Linked DNA regions of Homo sapiens: regions 2 and 3 are each linked to region 1. The links are contacts of gene promoters, found by promoter capture Hi-C in human tissues and cell types (Jung and others, 2019). All regions are on one chromosome and are shown on one strand. Each heading gives the region's core, a stretch centred on a gene start or on the middle of the fragment in contact. The rest is flanking DNA. Distances are from core to core; before and after follow the strand shown.

What was found. Contacts are between HindIII fragments. The study calls those that stand out against the background at their distance.
Region 2: a contact is called between a fragment that was not itself captured here and the fragment with the promoter of NAPG in region 1, in 1 of the 25 tissues and cell types used here (lymphoblastoid cells).
Region 3: a fragment that was not itself captured here is called in contact with the fragment with the promoter of NAPG in region 1 in 1 of the 25 tissues and cell types used here (IMR-90 fibroblasts).

What each region holds. Positions count from the first base shown.
Region 1 is chr18:10,524,001-10,528,601 of GRCh38, forward strand. NAPG (NSF attachment protein gamma) reads left to right here and starts at 2,027. Exons shown (of 12, transcript NM_003826.3): 1 at 2,027-2,158. The coding sequence starts at 2,103. RefSeq lists a silencer at 2,170-2,419. The HindIII fragment of the contact is 8,483 bases long and covers 1-4,601 here.
Region 2 is chr18:9,740,382-9,744,982 of GRCh38, forward strand. The region is part of intron 1 of RAB31 (RAB31, member RAS oncogene family); the gene reads left to right. Among named protein-coding and RNA genes, the nearest start is that of RAB31, 34 kb to the left of the region's middle. RefSeq lists an enhancer at 3,151-3,445. The HindIII fragment of the contact is 7,473 bases long and covers 1-4,601 here.
Region 3 is chr18:9,811,185-9,815,785 of GRCh38, forward strand. It overlaps RAB31 (RAB31, member RAS oncogene family), which reads left to right. Exons shown (of 7, transcript NM_006868.4): 4 at 2,836-2,907; 5 at 3,932-4,038. Among named protein-coding and RNA genes, the nearest start is that of TXNDC2, 72 kb to the right of the region's middle. The HindIII fragment of the contact is 8,789 bases long and covers 1-4,601 here.

The DNA of each region.
Region 1 (4,601 bases), core at 777-3,276:
ATATCACTATCGTGGGGTTTTTTTCCCATTCTTTCTTTGTTGATGCCAAAGTAAAATTAAGTTAAATATTGTATCCTCTCATAGATCATGAATGCAATGAGGGCAGGCATTATATCTCTTGCTCAACAATTGGGTCCTAGGTGTGTAGGCTTAATGTCTTGTGCAGAGTGGGCATTCAGTAAACAATAATTCAATAATGAATGAATAAATAAGGGAGAATGTGGAGGAGGTTATAGGCTTAGAAAACTTTCTGGGCACTTTCAATGGTTTTAGAGGGTGATGGTATTGGGTGGTTAATAAATCTAAACTCACTTGAAAACATAAGGCTTTCCACTGGTAACAGTCCTTTTATATTTAATCAGTCATCCCAGAGTTGTGGTGAATTGGAAGTCATGGCCAAAGTATTTTACACTCCTCTATTTTCCTACCTCTTGAATCTGAACTTGCCTTATGACATGTTTTCATCAATAAAATGTGGCAGAAGTAATGTGCAGTGGGAGTCCAGGCCTTACGAAGCCTGAAGTTTCCACTTTCACTCTCTTGAAATTCTGCTGCCTTCCTATAAAGGAAGCCCAGGCTAGACAACCAAATGAAGAGGGGTCTTGTGTGTGGGTACTAAATAAGAAAGTGAGGATAGAGAAAAAAATCCAAGGCCAGTTCACCTGTTGGCACTAGAAAAAATGCAAAATATTGATTGGCAAATAGATGCAGGAAGATCGATCGATTGTGTGGTGAGGCCAAAGGGAAGAACTCTTCGAATAGTTATTTCATATTCAACAATAAGTGAGAGTTGGCAGGCAAGCAGAGATTGTGTAGGAGTTTTGAGAAGGAAGGTGTGAACAGCCCTCCAAGTGAGTGGGTGAGTGATTTGACCATGGAAACATAGGAGAGTTGCTCAGCAGCACCAAAGGTCGGCTTAATGTTTATGATCATTAAAATGAGTAATGTTAGCATCCTCGTTTGTTTTTTTCCAGTCAAATTCACTTGCTCAAGAGCAGTTCCAGAGTAGGTGGAGAGCTGGGGTTTTTCCTGGCTTGGAGAAAGGAGGGAGAGGGAGCCAAGGCCGTTGAGAGTATACGCACTAAAATGATGGGACATGAATTTATGCTGGGAAAAGAAGGACGTGTAAGAGCAGAGGGATAGGGAAAGGTGAGGAATCTGGTGAAGGTTAAGTAATTACTAGCACTAGGAGGTATGAGCTGGAATGGAAAGGGGAAGTAAAGTGAGCTGTTTGAAACTGACACTACGGAGGGTACACAGTTATGAGTAAGGTCAAGGGTGTGATCCCAGGAATGTGTGGCTGCGCTAGTGTGGGAAAGATCACAGGAGGTTGGAAGCTGAGAGGCTGTATAGTCATTGCAGGAATCATCCATGTGGATATTGAAATCACCATGAATTATGAATGAAGCCAACTGTATTACTGGTTACTATTTTTACCAGACCACTGTACGCGACTTTAGATCCCTCAACTTCCCATTTAGAGCACTTATCACGGCTTGAAATATTAGAGCGATTATTTGGGTTGGGCGCGGATTATTTGACAGTAATCAGGGTTTACAAGTCTGTTTCGTTTCTTGACTGACATACAATTAATACCCAAAAGGCAGAATGGATAGAAGAATACTATTCTATCTGTCATACAGAGAAACTTCAGATGTAATAAATTATAAAGCCAATTAACCCTACAAACAGGATCCACAGCAGTTTCACATTAATGAAAAAGCAAGACTTCAAGAGGGCGGGAGTTTTTGTCTGCTGATCTTCCCGCATCTAAAATAGTGCCTGACACATATTAGGTGCTTTGCAAATATTGAATGAAAGAATACGCCCCATCAGTATCTCACCGCGCCTGCGCTAGATGCCCTAGGTGGGGCCAGCCTTGACGCGCTGCGCCTGCGCAATGTCTCTTTGCGGGGCGCACCGGCAGGCTCCCAGCCCCGCTTCGTCGCAGCGGCTTGGGCCCTCCGGCCCTCCGTAGCCGCTCGACTGTCGCGCTGCACCAGCTTCCTCCTCGGCGTTCCCACGCCTATTTGGGCGGATTCTTGGCGCCGGAGGAAGAGGCAGGGTCACCCTCTCTCCACGTCAGAGACCTGACTGTGGAGATGGCGGCTCAGAAGATAAACGAGGGGCTGGAACACCTCGCCAAAGCAGAGAAATAGTGAGTGAGAACCTTCCGGGGGCCTGTGTGTAGACGCCGGGTCCGTCTCTCACTGGCGCGGCCTTAGCACCCGGGGGGGGCGGGAGGGAGGGCTCAGGGCTGAGGGGCCTCGGCGCGCTGGTGCCCGCAGGGCTGCCGGGGCTCGGTGTCCTCTGGGTCACACTCCCGGGGTCGGGGTCAGCTCTGCGGCGCCTCGGGAAGCGCCGTGGGTCCACCCCGCCGGAAGTCCGCTCCCCAGAGCCGGTGTGGGCGGGGACTCGGCGCAGTGCTGCGGGGCGAGGGCTTCTCTACTTGGGCGCTCTGCTCCTGAAGATTGTGGTGGGGGCTGTCTGTGCATCGGAGGCTCGTTAGCAGCATCCTTGGCCTCTACCTGCTGGGTGCCGGTCGCATCTCTTCCCCATTTGTGGCAACCCAAAATGTCATCTGGGGAACAACATCGCTCTGTTGAGAACCACCGCCCTAGAAGAGCCCCCTGTGTGGAGGGGACCATAGGTTTACCCCAAAAACTCCTCGGTGAACCTTTGTCATCTGGCATTTTACTGTCCCTGTGGGCAGGGACTGTGCTTCGTTCGTCCTTTGATGTGTATGTCCTGCCACCTCTGGTACAGTACGTAGTAGGCACCCTGCAAATGTTTGTGGGACTGAACTGATAATCCTTAATTCATCCTTTTGGCAGCCTCTTCCCCCCGTTTCATTACTCCAGTGCATTTTTATCTGGCAGTTACAGTTAATAGAAAGTCAGCATTGTGGGCCGGGCGCGGTGGCTCACGTCTGCAATCCCAGCACTTTGGGAGGCCGAGGCGGGCGGATCACAAGGTCAGAAGATCCAGACCATCCTGGCTAACACGGTGAAAACCGTCTCTACTAAAAATACAAAAAATTAGCCGGGCGTGGTGGCGGGCGCCTGTAGTCCCAGCTACTCGGGAGCCTGAGGCAGGAGAATGGCCTGAACCCGGAAGGCAGAGCTTGCAGTGAGCCGAGATCGCGCCACTGCACTCCAGCCTGGGCCACAGAGCGAGACTCCGTCTCAAAAAAAAAAAAAAAAAAGAAAAGAAAAAGTCAGCATTGTGCTCTGTGGTGGGTGCTTCACATACATAATTTCATAAGCTGAGATCTTCACAATAACTTTCCAAATAGAGATTCTAATTTTTCGTAAGAGGAAATGAGACTCAGGGAAGCCTCATAACGACTTGCCCCCAACTGCACAGGTGAAAGATCGCAGAGCCAGTTTTCAAACAGTGGAAAAACTCAAGCTCTATCACATGACTCGAGGCAGTCAGCGTGTAAGGTGCTGGGGCTCTCCTGGTGCAGGAGGTTCCCACAACATTCTGCTTTCTAGTGGGAGCAAACGCAAAATTTGTAATAAGAATAGTGTGTGGAATAGGGACCACAAAAAAGCTGTATTAACTGTGCATAGGTAACCCAGAGGGAGAAGTTTATTCTGCCTGAGAAAATTTGAGGAGGAGATGATTTGTGAGCAGAGCTTGAAAAATACGGAATGTTTTAGACGGAGGGAAAATCTTGTGAAAGAGATTCTGTGCGCAACCTGTAGTATGTATTATACGCGGGCCTGAAAATGTGCTCTGGGAACAGTGAATGTAGTGTAGTCACAGTGCCAGGGGACGAGCTGGAGTGAAAAAGAGTTGGGGCCAGACTGTGAAGGGACAGCTTCTCACATGGCTATTGTAGGCATCCAACCAGTGGACTCGGTTAGATTTGCTTTTGGTGAAAGAAATGTGGCAGCAGGCTGGGCCCTGTCGCTCATGCCTGTAATCCCAGCACTTTGGGAGGCTGAGGCGGGTGGATCACTTGAGGTCAGGAGTTCGAGACCAGCCTGGCCAACATGGTGAAACCCTGTCTCTACTAAAAATACAAAAATTAGCCGGCTGTGGTGGCGCGCACCTGTAATCCCAATTGCTCAGGAGGCTGAGGCAGGAGAATCCCTTGAGCCCTAGAGGCGGAGGTTGCAGTGAGCGGAGATCGCGCCACTGCATTCCAGCCTGGGAGACAGAGCAAGACTCTGTATCAAAAAAATAAATAAATAAAAAGGAAAAGAAAAAGAAATGTGGCAGCAGTGTGGAGAATGGACTTTGACATATTCAGTAAACGAACATTTACAAAGTTGTCTCTGTGTACCTGTACCAGCCACAGAGGATACTGGAGTAACCAAAAGTGGTCCCTTCTTCAAGAGCTTAGAATTCACAGGTGGGCAGACAAGTTAACAGAGGACTAAAAATAGGATGTTCAGTGCTAGAATAGAAGTATTCAGTGTGGTATGGTAGAGATAGGAAGCAAGGAAAAGGTAATATGCTCAGGATGTGGGGAATGGAAGAGGAGGAAAGGTGACTCTCCCATGAAGGTACTGCCAGACATGTTAGTGGGTTGTCGACTTCAGGGGAGAGGTGGTGATGGCCTGAATTCAAATAACAGTACAGGGGTAGGA
Region 2 (4,601 bases), core at 2,102-4,601, 780 kb before region 1:
TACAGTAAAGTTATTTATACTTCTCCAAATGCAAAATTTAAAATTATTTTGGCTGGACGTGGTGGCTCTCGCCTGTAATCCCAGCACTTTGGGAGGCCGAGGAAGGTGGATCACTTGAGGTCAGGAGTTCGAGACCAGCCTGGCAACATGGTGAAACCCTGTCTCTACTAAAAATGCAAAAATTAGCTGGGCGTGGTGGCGCACACCTGTAATCCCAGCTACTCAGGAGGCTGAGGCAGGAGAATTGCTTGAATCTGGGAGGTGGAGGTTGCAGTGAGCCAAGATTGCACCACTGCACTCCAGCCTGGGCAACAGAGTAAGACTCTGTCTCAAAAAAAAAAATTCTTTTGGTGGGTTAATGTTACCCAGAAGCAGATCATACTGTGCTCACACATCTTCTGTCCACATCATACCAATGCTAGAATAAAGGGGGTAAACAGAAAAACAGGTTTTCTTGGGAAATGACATATGGAAGTTGCTGCACAGGGGTCTCTAATGGCAGAGGTGCCTCCAGGGGGCTTTGATATGTCAGCAGTAGCAGCGCACACTGCAATGCCTTCCTTGCTTGTAGTAAGTGGCCTCTGGGTTCTTAAAACAAGACCCTATTGTGTAAGATGCTGGACTTGGGAAAACCCCTGGCAGGGGCTGCATTGAGGCTGGTGACTCCTGTTGGGGCATTGTGTGCTGCATAGTGTAATAGGCAGCCACTCTAGGCCCAGCATGGTGGCTCACGCCTGTAATCCCAGCACTTTGGAAGGCCGAGGTGGGCGGATCACTTGAGGTCAGGAGTTCGAGACCAGCCCGGCCAACATGGTGAAACTCCGTCTCCACTAAAAGCACAAAAATTAGCCAGGTGTGGTGGCGGGCACCTATAATCCCAGCTACTAGGGAGGCTGAGGCAGGAGAATTGCTTGAACCTGGTGGGGCAGAGGTTGCAGTGAGCCGAGATAACGCTACTGCACTCCAGCCTGGGCAACAGAGTAAAACTCCGTCTCAAAAAAAAAAAAAAAAAAAAAAAAAAAGGCAGCTGCTCTGGGCACCCCTGGATTGTGGCAAACTTCAGAATTGGGTGTCAGTGCTAAGTGACCAAGACAATACCACCGTGGATGGATCACAAGGGCTGGAGTTGCAGAGTCAGAGCTGATGGAGCTTTCCTGCCAGCCACGCACCATCTGTCCAGTGGGAAGTCCTTTCTGTGCTGGGAGGAAGGGGCCAGCAGGACCACTTGTCCTGCGCCAGTGCCAGCCTCTCTCAGCCTGTGTGCAGCACGTACATGTCCATGGCAGCCCTCGGCTGGATCTCAGGGCTGTGGGCAGGGGTGGAGGCCACTGCTAGGCTGTCCTGCTGCTCCAGCAGCCCCCTCAGGGGCCGTTGACTTTTCACAGGAACCCAGGCCTGCCATTGAGGGTGGAGATTTCATTTGGAAATGCTCGCCTCACTTCCCATGCGGTTCCTCTGTCTGCTTTATGAGCGGGACATACCCCTCATCCACTGCCTCATCCAGGTTTCCTGGTGTGGCAGGGTCCCCAGGGACCCAGAGGGAGCCAGGAAATGTGAGTCAGTGGCTTCCCAAAGTGGCTGCCTGGCCTGTGGTGTCATAGGGCTGCTGCTGTCTGCCCTTTGTCCTGTCTCACGCTGTCCCCAGCCCTCCCAGCACTGGCCGTTGAGAAGACAGAGTTGAGTTGACTGTCACTGTTGTCTTGGGGAAGACCACCCGGCAAAGCACTGGCAGGGCTCGAAGTGGGAAGGCAAGGTCAGACTGGATTGAGAGTTGCAACTGTGATTGAAGGCGGTCTTTCAAAGCAGGCTCTTGGTGAGGGTTGGGTAAGAATCGCGATATTGCAGCGCAGAGTTGGTGGAAACAGCAAGCAAGGGTTTCGAGGACTTCAAAGACTCCTAGGGGCAAACTTCTACTGCTTCCTACTGAAGAGTGGATGGGCCTTCAGGGAAGTTCCTGGCAGGAACAGTCCTCCCATTTGTCTGGGCGGATGGTCCGGAAGAGCAAAGACATGCTAATGAGACAGAGGAATAGCAAGTCCCCTTCAAGCCGACAGGAAGGGGCCTCAGTTCTCAGCGCCAGCCTGAGTGTGGGGGCTGCTTGGCTCGGCCTGTTTCCACGCTAGGGACGTTCTACGTGTTTTCTTCTTCATGGCTTTTTGTTTTCTAATAAAAGATGTTTCTATTCATAAATGTTGTAGATGAGGATAATGTCTATTTGTTTTATTTTGGAGGGGCAGGGTTGGGGAAGGCTGAGGAAGGGGGCTGTCTGATTGCTGGCTCATGCCCAATTACAGTTTATTTCCTCCCTGAGTGCCCTCTTTGATGTGGGAAGGAAAGGGAATGAAATCCTTCTCTTTTACTCATGAGCAGTGCAGACGCCTTCTCCGGACAGTTTGGCTTGACCTGTGCAGAGTGCTTTTTCCCCAGCGAAATGGAACAGGAAAGCTCACGGCAGCAAGTGGCAGAGGGGTGGAGCCACAACTTGGCTCTTTTTCCTTCTTCTTTTCCTTCTTCTTCTTTTTAAAAAAAATCCAGTCCACTAAAGCACGAATGTTTTTCAAAGTCGCAAATGAAATACAGTAGGATTTTAAAAAACCAAAGCTGTCTTTCAACATGTTGATGTTCTCGGACTGTAGCAAACATGGTTTGGACTTGTCCATTTAGAAAGCAGTGTAAACAGGCTCTGAAATGCCATTGTACCAAGGGAAATGAGGACATGCGGCAAAGCTTTAAGAATTCAGCCCCTAGACCTGCTTTTGACTGAAATAGTTTTGCTTGAAATAATTTATTTTCCTTGAATTTTTTGATTTTTATTTCTTCAGTTCTGTCTGGTCACCTTCCCTGTATAGGCATGACCAGCACCTGAGGAAGAATGATTAACACATGTACAAATAACTTAAATGTACTCGAAAGCTATAAAACAATATGTGTGTTACTGAAAATAAACAGATAGTGTAATACCTGGATTATAAACATCTTGATCCCTTGAAAATAAAGTATTGCCTTAATTCAAATAATAATACCTCAATGTTTATATAGTGCCTATCTGAAAAGTATTTAAAGTTACTGTTATTTTCTAGATTTCCTGGCGGGTTGATTCACTGGAGGGCTAGTTGGTTAGGGAGGTAGCACCTGAGCTGCCACCCTCTCACAGCTCCCAGATGGACATGGAGTTGGGCGCTGGGTGGGTTTGGGAAAGCTCCTGGGTCCGGCCCTCCCGGATATGCTTCCTGCCCCAGGGCTTCAGGGGATCTGCGTTCTCAGGCCACATGCAAAACCAGTTGTTAATCATCCCTGACACACTCTGAGTCACCACCACCCTCTGGGAAGCCACAGGGAGACCTTGGCTGAAGCCACCGCAGCACCATGTTTCGCCATCTTGCAGCCAAGTCTGTTTATTTGTCTGCCTTTGGCACCTCCAGGACCTCTGTCTTTTGATTGTTGGTCTCAGTTTGCAGACAGATCTAACTGTGGACTCCCGGGTGCGGTCTGTGCCTGTTGGGAAGATGGGCAGCTGACTCACTTCACTGTCATCCCCTCACCCATCTTCTGTGGTCCCAGGCTCCACTTACCTCCTCTATATGACCCTGTAGGCGCAGTGGGTGCTTTAATCATGGGGCACAGTGGGTGCATTAATCTTTCCTCATTTTAGTTTGCATTTTTATTTAGCGGTGGAGTTGCCTCCATGAATTTCTGTTCTCATCCACACCTTTAGTTTTTCTCTTTTTATTTTCCATGTCATAGTAGGAGGAAATTTGGAATTAGCAGAAAACATTACTGAGTATTTCCAGTGGAAAACTATGCATTGTGTAGAGCATACCCTTCCAAGGTATCTGATTGTAGCCTTTGATCCATTTCATACCTCCGTAAGTTGTAGGTAATTGGTAGCAATGCAAAATAACTATTGCCTGTAGACATGCAAAAATGTCTGTTAGCATGGCTAAAATGACCCCCTCCAAGCCGTAGGAAAAGCAAAGTTCGTATTTGTAAATTCATTTCAACATTCCTTTACTCCATATATACTTATGCTTCTCTGACTTCTCCTTTTAACTGGTTGTAACATCTTATTAATTCCCTAATTAATGGTGAAGTCAATAAAATCTTTGACATGTTCATTTTGTATCTGTATGAGAGTTGATTTTACCTTTGATTATTATTTTTAACGTAATATTTTATGGTCCCTATTAAAAATAACAAAGGCACCGTGCTTCCTGGTTAACCAGTGACAAGAATGGGCCCTAACAAGAGGAACTTGGATGCAAAAAGCAGAATGAATTAATCCTGAGGGCTTAAGACATTGGAAGTTTTTCTCTTAATATTGTAAAAATGTGTAGACTCATAAACAACCAATAGTCAAAGAAGAAATTACAATGGAAATTGGAAATTACCTTGAGATGAATGAAGACAAAAGCACAACATTCCAAAACTTCAGAGCAGTGCTCAGAGGGAAACTTATAGCCATAAACACCTACATTAAAAAAAGAGAAAGACTTCAAATCAATAACCCAATTTTACAACATAGGGAACTAGAAGAAGAAGAGCAAAATAAACTCAAAGTTACAAATTGTAGGAAATACAGAGTGAAGAGAAATGAAATAGAG
Region 3 (4,601 bases), core at 1,180-3,679, 710 kb before region 1:
CGCACAGTTCAGCTGTGAACTCCTTGGTTCACCCTGAGCTTCGTCCAACCTTCTCCCTTTTCTGAAACCCGCAGAGGCTCCAGAGTCCTTTCTCTTCAGGATGGAGACCTGCATGGAGGGACTGGAGGCAGGGAGGGTGGCCCACTTCCTTTCCACACTATTGTGAGTGCCTCACCAGCATTCCTCAGTGCAGTAACAGGGAAACCTGGGGACTCAGATTTCCAAATACCATCATTTCAGTTTGGCAAGTATTGATCCAATGATGAGTATCGTGGGAAAGAAAATAATAAGTTAGGGTTTTGTCGCTTGCCAGAAAAGCTTCAGGATCCACTTCTCCTTCCTCCCTGCTCTCTCCCCACTGCCCAATAAAAACAGCTGCTTTGTTCAAAACTTAAAAACCATATTATTTAAAACTCATTGTAAAAATTTATGCTATACAGATGCTTGTAAGGAAAATGTAAAAATCGCTGGAAATCCCACCTGTTAAGATTTAGAGGAACCTCGTGTTATTCCTGCTCACAGAGACATACTCCCACATACATTTTACCCTACATTATATTATCATATAATGATAAATTAACCACATAATAAATGATAAATTATATGCTATATGTGCTGTTTTGAGACTATTTCTCATCTAACAGTATGTCAAAGATCTCTTTTCCTATAAATAAAAATCATCATTTTAATGGCTATAGAATATCATTACATACATATATGTATTAATCTGTGCACAAAATAACATAGACTGGGTGGCTTAAACAACACACGTTGATTTCTTACCATTTGGGAGCTGGGAAGTCCAAGATCAAGGTGCTGGCAGATTCAGTGCCTGTGAGGGCCCCCTTTCTGGTATGCAGATACTCGCCTTCTTGCTGTATCTCACATAGGGGCAGGGCAGGGAGAGAAGGGAGATCTGGTCTCCTTCTCTCCTTATAAGGGACTAATCCCATCTGTGACCTCATCTAACCCTAATTACCTCCTAAGGGCCCCACCTCCTAATACCGCCACGTTGGGAGTTAGGGTTTCAATACATGGATTTTAGGGGAGACACAAACATTCAGTTCATAACATTATACCATGAGTCAATTCCCATTTACTCCCATAAACAGCGCAGGGATGTGTCTTCCTGCGTGTGATGGTCACTCCAGTATATATTCCTCTAAGTGGAATTGCTGGGTCAAATGGGACACACATTTCAACTTTTGATTATATTACCAACAGTTGCTTTGAAAGAAGATATTCAGCACATTCCATGTAGAGTATGTGTGCCTCCCTTCCCAAACCCACACCAACACTGAACAGCACAAATCTTTTTACAATTTAATAATTTATAAGTGTCTCCTTATTTTTATTGGTGTTCTTCCGATTCTAATTGAACATGTTTTAAAATATTTGTTGGCAATGTATATGTCTTCTGTGATTTACCTTTATATATATCTTTGTCCATTTTTCTATTAAGCCATCTTTTTCTTATTGACTTTCAAAACCCCTCCAGGATACTATTTTTTTTTTTTTTTTTTTTTTTTTTGAGATAAAGTCTCACTCTGTCTTCCAGGCAGGAGTGCAGTTTTGCAATCTTAGCTCACTGCAACCTCTGCCTCCCGGGTTCTAGCATTTCTCCTGCCTCAGCCTCCCAAGTAGCTGGGATTACAGGCATCTGCCACCATGCCCAGCTAATTTTTGTATTTTTAGTTGAGACGGGTTTCACCATATTGGCCAGGCTGTTCTCAAACTCCTGACCTCGGGTGATCCTGCCTGCCTCAGCCTCCCAAGTGTTGGGATTACAGGCGTGAGCCACTGCACTCGGCCCCTCCAGGATACTTTTTAATTTAAAAAAATATGCAGATTAAGACTGGACCCTTCTCCAAAATATACATAAAATGTATGCATTCTGAGACTAATGACCTCTCCTGTCTGGGGATGAACGATGCTAGTGACCAGCAGCACTTGCTTTGTTAACATTTTGGAATGGAGCTCCTCTGCTGTCTTGTCATTTGTGGACCTTAGGTAGGTGTGAAGCCCCGCGTTGGAGAGGTGGCAGCCCCTCCAGACCCGAGGCAGCTGCTGCCAAGGTTGCCCTTGCTGACTGGTCCTCATTAATGGCTCAGCAAGGGTCCTGTGATCTTTGCCAGTGTTCCCTTTCCCTCTCCTTGCCATACATCTTTCCTTTACTGCCGCATAATTCTAATGAGATTACCCTGGGTCAGTCAGTTATATTAGAGAAATGATGAGCAGCAGGGAAAAGAAAATTCACAAGATGGTAACATTTAAAATAAAATTTGTTTTTGGCCTTTACCCAACAGTAGATTTCATGGTCAATAAACCACAAGCATACATATGTGTTGATGAGGAGGAAGATTTATTATTTCATATGAACTCTGGGGCCGGGTGCGGTAGCTCACACCTGTAATACCAGCACTTTGGGAGGCTGAGGCAGGTGGACCACCTGAGGTCAGGAGTTTGAGACCAGCCTGGCCAGCATGGTGAAACTCTGTCTCTAATAAAAATGCAAAAATGATCCAGATGTGGTGGTGCATGCCTGTAATCCTGGCTACTCAGGAAGCCAAGGCATGAGAATCGCTTGAACCTAGGAGGTGGAGGTTGCAGTGAGCCAAGATTATGCCATTGCACTCTAGCCTGGGTGAAAAGAGTGAAACTCCATCTCAAAAAAATAAAATAAAATAAATAAATAATATGAACCATGGAAAAATTATATAGGGAAGGAATTTAGGGATCCTGTAAGGATGATGTAGGATAAAACGTTTATGTTTAATTTGGGATTGAATAAAGTCTGTTCACTTTGGCCTAAAACTGTTCATTGTTCTTAAACAGTTTCATTCATTGGCTCCCATGTACTATCGAGGCTCAGCTGCAGCTGTTATCGTGTATGATATTACCAAGCAGGTAAGAATGTCTCCTTCAGAATTTAGATGTCATTTATGGTGGTTCTCTCACTTAGAGAGACTGGAGCAGAGACGTCACTGCTTGCATCTTGCCAGTAGCGTGCCACTATATATTGAGTTTATTTCATGTATATGTAACAAAGCATCCCATATTTATCTGCTAAATTAAACAATAATGACCATTCATTCTTAAAATTGACTGTAGAGGCAAAGTCATGCCTGCTAGTACTATTCTGCAGAATGTCAGCTTTTAAAGAAAAGGAAAATCATTTTTAATTTCTGCATGCTTTATAATTACAGAATACTTATTTTTGTTACTGTTTCAATCATACTACATACTTAAAATGCCAAGCATAACATTCGTGTGTATGTAAGTAAATCTTTGTGTGTGTATATATAAGTATATTTTTAGTTATCACGTTGAAGGTCTTAGACTTCCATCAACAAATAACCGCAGTAGTTTGATGACATTTTTTCCCACTCCTGCAAACTGAATTATTTACTTTTTTTTCTCTGGAGTGTTGACTCAGCACATAAGACTGTTAGTTTAATGACCCATCACTGTTACTTTCCACGAGTTCCTGACCACTTCTACCTAAATGTGGTGTGTTGCCCTTGGCCTGTTTTCTAGAGGACAATTGTGAGTGAAGGGCCAACAGGAAGACAGGACTCTAAATATATATGTTTCTTCCTTGGTGTAAGCATGAGCATTTACTTAGTCCTGTTATTCTTATTCATGTGGAGTCCAGGCTATCATTTTAAATTAATGTTATTTATAGGAGAAAAATCACTGATATGATTTTCTTAACTAGATCAAGTTTTAATTTTAGAAAACTTGATATGGTCTATTTAAGTATATTTCAGCTAACATTAACTTTTGTGCCTAGACAGAGGTAGTATGTTAATCTGCATGAGTCTCCTAAAAATATTTTTCTCCATTAAATTGTACTGGGCTTGTATTTCTGCTTAGTTGAAATATTATATTGAGGGGTCTTTCTAATGATTTGTGTACACTGTTGGTTTAGGATTCATTTTATACCTTGAAGAAATGGGTCAAGGAGCTGAAAGAACATGGTCCAGAAAACATTGTAATGGCCATCGCTGGAAACAAGTGCGACCTCTCAGATATTAGGTAAGATGCATTGAAATCTCTTTTGTGTAGATACTGTCCTCCATCCCTGAGTGTCATCCGTGTAGATACTGTCCTCCATCCCTGAGTGTCATCCGTGTAGATGCTGTCCTCCATCCCTGAGTGTCATCCGTGTAGATGCTGTCCTCCATCCCTGAGTGTCATGCGTGTAGATGCTGTCCTCCATCCCTGAGTGTCATCCGTGTAGATGCTGTCCTCCATCCCTGAGTGTCATCCGTGTAGATGCTGTCCTCCATCCCTGAGTGTCATCCGTGTAGATGCTGTCCTCCATCCCTGAGTGTCATGCGTGTAGATGCTGTCCTCCATCCCTGAGTGTCATCCGTGTAGATGCTGTCCTCCATCCCTGAGTGTCATCCGTGTAGATGCTGTCCTCCATCCCTGAGTGTCATCCGTGTAGATGCTGTCCTCCATCCCTGAGTGTCATCCGTGTAGATGCTGTCCTCCATCCCTGAGTGTCATCCGTGTAGATGCTGTCCTCCATCCCTGAGTGTCATCCGTGTAGATGCTGTCCTCCATCCCTGAGTGTCATCCGTGTAGATGCTGTC